2 separate regions of the Homo sapiens genome follow, and region 2 is linked to region 1. Evidence: promoter capture Hi-C in 16 types of primary human blood cells and fetal thymus (Javierre and others, 2016). All regions are on one chromosome and are shown on one strand. Each heading gives the region's core, a stretch centred on a gene start or on the middle of the fragment in contact. The rest is flanking DNA. Distances are from core to core; before and after follow the strand shown. Region 1 holds the start of FLNA (filamin A). Region 2 has its middle 13 kb from the start of OPN1LW.

What was found. Contacts are between HindIII fragments. The CHiCAGO score rates a contact against its expected background, and 5 or more counts as called.
Region 2: a fragment that was not itself captured here is called in contact with the fragment with the promoter of FLNA in region 1 in 2 of 17 cell types (total B cells and naive CD4 T cells); the score reaches 5.2 in total B cells.

What each region holds. Positions count from the first base shown.
Region 1 is chrX:154,371,851-154,375,887 of GRCh38, reverse strand. FLNA (filamin A) reads left to right here and starts at 1,254. Exons shown (of 48, transcript NM_001110556.2): 1 at 1,254-1,382. RefSeq lists silencers at 1,168-1,307, 1,318-1,377, 2,920-2,979, 3,923-4,037 and enhancers at 2,467-2,516, 3,701-4,037. The HindIII fragment of the contact is 17,250 bases long and covers 1-4,037 here.
Region 2 is chrX:154,129,320-154,133,603 of GRCh38, reverse strand. No RefSeq gene overlaps it. Among named protein-coding and RNA genes, the nearest start is that of OPN1LW, 13 kb to the left of the region's middle. The HindIII fragment of the contact is 8,995 bases long and covers 1-4,284 here.

The DNA.
Region 1 (4,037 bases), core at 5-2,504:
TTTTTTTTTTTTTTTTGAGACGGAGTCTCTATCACCCAGGTTGGAGTGCAGTGACGTGATCTCGGCTCACTGCAACCTCTGCCGCCCGGGTTCACGCGATTTTCCCGCCTCAGCCTCCCGAGTAGCTGGGATTACAGGCGCCTGCCACTGCGCCCGGCTAGTTTTTATATTTTTAGTAGAGACGGGGTTTCACCATCTTGGCCAGGCTGTTCTTGAACTCCTGACCTCGTGATCCACCCACTTCGGCCTCCCAAAGTGCTGGGATTACAGGCATGAACCACCGCACCTGGCCTTTTTTTTTATGTTTAGTGACAGGGTTTCACTGTGTGACCCAGGCTGGAGTGTAGTGGTGAAATTATAGCTCACTGCAGCCTCAAACTCCCGGGCTTAAACGATCCTCCCATCTGTCTCCTGAGCAGCTGAGACTACCGGTGCACGTCACCACGCCCAGCTAATTTTTATATTTTTGGTAGAGATAGTGTCTTGCTGTGTTGCCCAGGTTGGTCTCAAACTCCCGGGCTCAATTAATCCACCTGCCTCAGCTTCCCACAGTGCTAGGATTATAGGCATGAGCCACCATGCCCGGCCAATGTTTTCTTTAAGATCAGAATCTTCTTAATACTAAACAAACTTAACTTTCTCGTCCCCCTGAGCGATCCTGTTTCTGCTGCCCACCCCAGGCCAGACCTGGCAGCGCCTGATCCATGGCAGTCAGGTTCATCCCAGGGCTCGGAGCCCTGCAGTCCCGTCCCGGGGCCCTGCCTGACGTAGGCGCCCAGCCAACACCTGCAACGACCTGTTGCCCCCACCCCAGGAAACAATCCCGGCTTGGGACAGACACCAGGGGCTGTGACTGTGGGTGGCTCCTTGGAGAAGGTGGCCTTGGGCCTCGGCCTTTCCACCTGGGGTGCGCTTGGCTCCCCCAGACTCAGACACGCAGGATCCTTGTGATTGGGCCTAGACACGAGCCCTGCAGTCCCTGTGGGCGCTGGAGGCGACTCCCCCACGAAGCCCTCCCTCCCCCAGGGCCTGGCGGCCCTCGCCGGCGGTGAGCTCATCTCGGGGGGCGGCGTCGCCCGGCGGCGGGTCGCTGGAGCTCACGGCGTGCCCCCGCACCCCCGCCCCCCACGCACCCGTCCCGGGCTCCTGGGCAATTTTACCAATTAAGGCTTTCTCGCCGGGCCGGGCCGGGCGCGGGGCGGGCGCGGGGCGGGGGTGCGGCCAACAAGAAGGCGGGCGGCGGCGGCCCATTCGCGTGGAGGCGCGTCGCGCGCAGCGGACGCCGACAGAATCCCCGAGGCGCCTGGCGCGGGCGCGGGCGCGAAGGCGATCCGGGCGCCACCCCGCGGTCATCGGTCACCGGTCGCTCTCAGGAACAGCAGGTGAGGTCTCCGCGGCCCGGCTTCGCGCCGTAGGGTCGCCGCGCTCCTCGTCGGCCGGGGGCGGGGTTGGAGAAGGCGGGCAGAGAGGCCGGAAAACGCAGGCGCCAGCTCGCGCCCAGGTCCGGGCCAGGTTCAGCTGGGATGCGTGAGCCGATGGAGGCTCCCCTGGCATCTGGGAGTGAGTGTCCAGAGAATAGCTTCCCTAGTTGACCCACGAGCCATGTCTGTGCCCACGAATGTGGGAGCCTGAGGCCATGGGGGGTCCCCGAGAGAGAGAGGGTGTCTGGGCACTTGCCCATGAACGGACCACTGCATGCCTGAGAGAGAAGGGCCCTGACACCAGGAACTTGTGTGGACTCAGGGCGAGTGGCCACCTGGAAGGACACTTCTCAGCCAGTGTGCCCACTGGGAGGGGGACAGCGTGTCCCTTGCTGGCTCGAGTCCACAGGGCACCAGCTGCTTTGGGCACAGGGGAGCTGGTTCTGGGGCTGCTCTACTCCATGGGGGCCATGGTGAGGATGAGACCAGGCCAGGTTCCTTGGTTGGGCCCTGGGCCCTATGCCAGGTTGGCTCTGAGTTGGATGCGCACTGCCAGCCAGGATATAACCAACAATGTCCCCAGATTCCCGTGCCACCTGGGGCCAGGCAAAATAGGTTAAAATCCACTGGCAGACCCATTTGTAAGTGCTCCGAGTGCACCGTCAAGGTGGGAGCTTGGGAATGGGCGACCTCACCTGCCGCACCTGGACTTGCCAGCACAGGTCTCTTCTCACCTTGCCAGTCTGCGGCTTCCTTCCCTCCTGCGCCCCCTGGCTACGCAGGCCTGGAAACAGCTCCTTAGGGATCCCAGCTGAACAGCTCCTGGGCTTGGGCTATACCTCCCAGTGGGAGGGTCTGGCCTGGGGTCTGAGGGCCAGGGGTGGTGTGGTGGGCGGGGTGTGCCTAACATCCAAGAATCTACTCCAAATAAGGGAAAATATGAAAGAGCTGGATTTTGGCTTCCCAGGACTGCCCGATCTGGTGGCTTTGGGATCGGGCGACATCTGGCGGTTGATACTATGTTCTAGGGACAAGAACCCTCTACACGCCCATTCCTTGTTTCCTCTAAATAGGGAAAAGCTAGGGCTGGAAGACACGGCACCCACCTCCTGACACTCTTTCTGCTGGAATTGACCACTGGTCACTCTGACTCAGTTTCCCTGAGCTCTGAAGATTAAGGAATGAACCCAGACAACCCAGCTCAATGGCCCTTAGTGGAGAGAGAGTCAATTATTGATGGAATTCCGTGCCTGGGAACTTGCTTTCCAGTGGGGCAGGGGGACCAGAAGGACAACTTCAAGCCCGTCTTGAATGGGGCCCGTGCAGGGAGGGGTCTGTATGGGTTCCCCCTTCCCAGCCCTCCCTCCCACCTCCACCCCAGCTCCCAGACGCCCAGGCGCACTTGGTGCAGGTGTGTCTCAAAGTGGTCAGGAGAGGGGACAATATACAGGGGTTGGCCTCAGTACTGGAAAATGCCATTTGCACCCCCTAACACCACTACTAGTGGGAAAAACCAGTGGGGCCACAGGCTGCCCCGAAGTGAATGTGCTGGGCGGATCACAGCCCCACCACGTGTCATGTAGACACCCAGGGCTACAGGAGAGTCAACCATATTTGGGCATGACGTGCTGGCCAACCCAGGGCCTCCATCTCTCACTGGTCTTTAGCAGATAAATTAATTATTACTAGAATTGAACAGGAGGGACAGATACCTGCCTTCCTAGAAAAAAAAAAAAAACACTCAGAGGAGGAAACATTCTGGAGAGGGGAGGTACCGAGGACTGAGAGGGAGGGGAGTGCACAATGGGGAGGAAGCCATAGGCAGGCTGGCTTCTGACTGAAGATAGTAGCAGTGAGCGTCCCCAGCCGTCCCCTGGTCCCAGTCTACATCTCGGCACAGCAGCCACTGCACCATCTCCAGAGTTATCTACCAGAAAATTTTGAGTGAAGAGCCCCCACAGCTCTGGGGACACAACCCCCCAGGCCCCTGATCCCTGTCCTCAGGCCTCCTCTGCACCTGCCACCACACCTGAAGCCCACCCAGACCCAGGTGCTCAGAGCCTGACAAGTCTTATGGGAACCTCTGAGCAGGCCCCTCTGGGTCTGGAATGCCACTCCCGTGTTTGCCCCCTGCCCTGGCCACGCTGGGCTGAGGGGACTTTCCGACAGGAGAGGACCCCCCGCTTCAGCTCCCCCCAGTGCCCCGGGTGAACTGGCATGAAGGGTTAGGCGGGCACACGTCTCTGCATGCATCGCACGGCGCCCTCTGCCCGCGCCCACTGGCGTGCCCGTGGGCATGCCCGGACCCCTTCGAAGGCTGCTTGCTCCTGGAGTGCCGGCGGCCTCCTGGCCCAGTGCCCCATATCCTCCCGGGTGGAGGGAAGCAGAGAGGGAGGCGGTGGGAAGCAGCGGGCACAGGTGCGCGGGCGAGGGCCCTACGGACTGGGAAGGCGGGCCCGTGGCAGGGGGTCTGCGGGGACCGCGTAGGCGCAGGCCTTGCCCTGCAGCCGCTTCCCAGGTGATGAGCACACAAAGCGCCCTCGGCAGTGCCTGGTCCGGGGCTGCCGCTCTCCAGGGGTTCGCTCTTAGGGTTGGCCCCTTCCCGCCGCTGCCGGG
Region 2 (4,284 bases), core at 843-3,342, 240 kb after region 1:
AGGTAAAAAGTCATCGTGCTGAGAGCACTTGTGTTAGCTCTTGCATAAAAAAATAAACATTTAAAATTCATCCCAAGAAGTTATGCATTACCAAAATATTTTGTGTTTTTGTTGTTGTTTGAGACAGAGTCTCACTCTGTCACCCACGCTGGAGTGCAGTGGCACGATCTCCAATCACTGCAGCCTCTGCCTCCTGGTCTCAAGCGATCCACCTCAGCCTCCCAAGTAGCTGGGACTACAGGTGTATGCCACCATACATGGCTAATTTTTTGTGTATTTTTTGTAGAGATGGGGGTTTCACCATGTTGGCCAGGCTGGTCTCGAACTCCTGGGCTCAAATGATACTCCTGCCTTGGCCTCCCAAAGTGCTGGGATTATAGTTGTGAGCCACCACGCCTGGCCAATATGGTGGTTTTTAATTAAAGTGAAAATCACATAACATAAAATTAGTCATCTGAAAGTGTACAGTGTAGTGACATTTAGTGCATTTACTAATGCACGTTGTGCCACCATCACCACTATGTACTTTCAGAATATTTCATCATGCCGTACAGAAACCCCGTGTCCATTACGTGGCCACTCCCCATCCCCTAATCCCTCAGCCCCTGGCACCCGCTAATCTGCTGTCTGTGTCTATGAATTCCTCTATTCTGGATATTTCACATAAAGTGGCTCATCTGATATGTGACTTTTCATGTGTGGCTTCTTTCACTGAGCAAAATGCTTTTGAGGATCTATCTGAATTTCAGCATGTATCGGTACTTCATTCCTTTTTACCGAAACACATTGAAATTAGTGACATTTTTATACATTTACAGGATAGTTTTTGTTTGTTTGTTTGTTTGTTTGTTTGTTTTGAGACAGGATCTTGCTCTGTGACCCAGGCTGCAGTAGTGGCACGATCACAACTCACTGCAGTCTCGACCTCCTGGGCTCCAGCGATCCTCCTGCCTCAGCCTCTCGAGGTACCTGGGACTACAGCCACACACCACCATGCCCAGCTAATTTTTGTATTTTTTCTGTAGAGACAGGGTCTCGCTATATAGCCCAGGCTGGTCTCCAACTCCTAGCTTCAAGCGACTCTCCTGCCTTGGCCTCCCAAAGCACTGGGATTACAGGTGTGAACCACTGCTCCCAGGCTGCAGGGTAGATTTTTTAATTCCATTGAGTCACTTTTCGTAACTACAAGCCTCATTCTTCTCGGCATCAGCCTTTATTCGTGTGCACCATACAGTGGGTTACCCAAGCCAGGCAAAGGGGCAAACCTGGATGGTCCCAAGCAGCCAGGTACCAAACACGGTGGTCCGAAGACCCTTGTCAGTGTTGTTATTAATTTGAGGACTGATCTTGGAGAAGTCCAGTACCAAAGAGAGTTGCCAGGAGACACGGGTCAGTTGCTTAAGAGAGGAGCACAGCTGCCCTAGAACAAGAAAGGCCCATGGCCTTGACAGTGTAACCAGAGTCCCAATATTTGATAACAACACACAGGAGAAGGTAACATGGTAAGCAGTGGGAATTTTAGCTCCTCCACAAAGGAAGAGCCTTTGCTCTTTGTTCTGTTCGATTGCTTGTTCTCTTATAATTGGCTGCAGTTATGAAATAACCATGCCAAGGGGCAGCATAAAAGCACCTCTGTTAACAGATTTGCAGTGCTGTGAGCTCCTAGTAGGGTGAGAAAAAAAACCTCTGGCTCTAGATAGGATACTTGAGGTTGAAAATATATTGATTACTTAAAGACCCTTTACTCCCTTGCGCCCAGGCCTCTGCACTCCATCATACAGAAACTTTAAAAAACATTCATTGATGTAATACACCTCTATGTATGTTTATGTAAACATACACTTATATGCAGTCACAGTAAAAGATGTTCACGGCCAGGCATGGTGGCTCATGCCTATAATCCCAGCACTTTGGGAGGCTGAGGCAGACAGATCACCTGAGGTCAGAAGTTTGAGGCCAGCCTGGTCAACATGGTGAAACCCCATCTCTACTAAAAATACAGAAATTAGCCAGGCATGGTGGTGTGTGCCTGTAATCCCAGCTACTTGGGAGCCTGAGGCAGGAGAACTGCTTGAACCTGAGAGACAGAGGTTGCAGGGAGCCGAGATCACGCCGCTGCACTCCAGCCTGGGCAACAGAGTGAGACTCCATCTCACACACACACACACACACACACACACACACACAGATGTTCAGGTAGTGGTATTATTTACTGCTTTAAAAGTTTAGGTTTTATAGTAAAAATTTAAAAATCAGGCATAGGTTGGGCGTGGGGGCTCATGCCTGTAATCCCAGCACTTTGGGAGGCCAAGATGGGAGGATTGCTTGGAGGCCAGGTGTTCGAGAGTAGGCTGGGCAACACAGCAAGGCCCCATCTCTACAAAAAGTAAAAATGCAAAAATTAGCAGGGTGTAGTGGCACCCGCATGTGATCCCAGCTACTTGGGAGGCTGAGGTGGGAGGATCACTTGAGCTCAGGAGTTTGAGGCCACAGTGAGCTAGGATTGCACCAGTGCACTCCAGCCTGGGTGACAGAGTGAGACTCGGTCTCTAAAAAAAAAATAAGTAAAAATTCAGGCATAGCACAAAACAATGTTTAGACTACAGTGATTTTCTGATTTATGAGTGTTGTGTGGCACCATTGTGTTTATGCATAGACTAGAATACATATATGTCAGAAATAACTGTGTGTGTTTGCATTTTGTCTTTATGAATTTTCATTCCTTTGGAGATTATCCAGGTAAATATACTTGCTAATTACCTCAATTTATTGTCTACCCCAGGTATCAAAGTCAGTAGATGAGGGAATCTTAGAAATTATACTAGGCTGCCTGGGCGTGTTGGCTCACACCTGTAATCCCAGCACTTTGGGAGGCCAGGTGAGCGGATCACGAGGTCAGGAGTTCAAGACCAGCCTGGCCAACATGGTGAAACCCTGTCTCTACTAAAAATACAAAAATTAGCTGGGTGTGGTGGCGCACGCCTGTAATCTCACCTACTCGACAGGCTGAGGCAGGAGAATCGCTTGAACCCAGGAGGCGGAGGTTACAGTTGGCCAAGATCATGCCACTGCACTCCAGCCTGGCAACAGAGCAAGACTCCATCTCAAAAAAAAAAAAAAAGAAAAAAAAAGAAAAAAAGAAATGATAGTAGCACAATATGATCACACTTCATGAATAAAATTTGACAAATATGACACTACAATTTATTCCGTTTACAAGGTGGAGTAACTTTGTAGGGCTACACAATTACTGCTATTGTTGGAAGTTTAAAAGGTTGATTTTAAAAATACAGATATTCATTATTATAACTCAGTTTAGCTCAACTCGTGTTTACATTTACAAAACCTTAGATATTTAGTGTAAGAAATGCTGACGTACGTGATCTGCAAGGTAAGTATTATGGGTTTAGAAAGGTCAACATAATAAAATTTCTCATGAGAAAATCATAATGGATACATCTCAAATCTTGCAAAAACCAAAGCACAGTGTTCCCATTGTCACTTTTACATACTTCGTACTGTGATAAAACTGGAGAGAAGACAAAGACATACAGCTATTTCTTAAATGAAGAATAAAACAATTTAATCTATTCAAGGATTTTTCTTATAAAGAAATATTGAGGAAACCTGGAGTTTTAGATTATTTTCTTGGCTTTATTTGTTTTTTCTTGATACATTGTAATCATGCATATTTATGGTGCCAATTCATATCACGTTGCACAATGACCCAATCACGGTAGTTAGTGTACCTATCACCTCATGCAAGTATCATTTCTTGACAATGCGAACATGCAAATACCTCTCTTCTAGCTATTTTATTTTATTTTTTATTTTTTATTTTTTGAGATGGAGTCTTGCTCTCTTGCCCCCAGGCTGGAGTGTAGTGGTGCGATCTCAGCTCACTGCAACCTCCGTCTCCTGGGTTCAAGCGATTCTCCTGCCTTGGCCTCCAGAGTAGCTGGGACTACAGGTGCCCGCCACCACACCCGGCTAATTTTGTATTTTTAGTAGAGATGGGGTTTCATTATGTTTGCCAGGCTGGTCTTGAACTCCTGACTTCAGGTGATCCGCCCACCTCGGCCTCCCAAAGTGCTGGGATGACAGGCCTCTTCTAGCTATTTTAACAGTAATATGCAATATCTTACTGTTAACCATCATCATCCCACTGTGCACAGAACACCAGAACTTATTCCTCCCATCTAATTGTTATTTTGTACTGTCGACGAACCTCTCCCTGTGCTCCCTTCTCCAGTCTCTGTGCTTCTAAGATATCAGCCTTTTTTG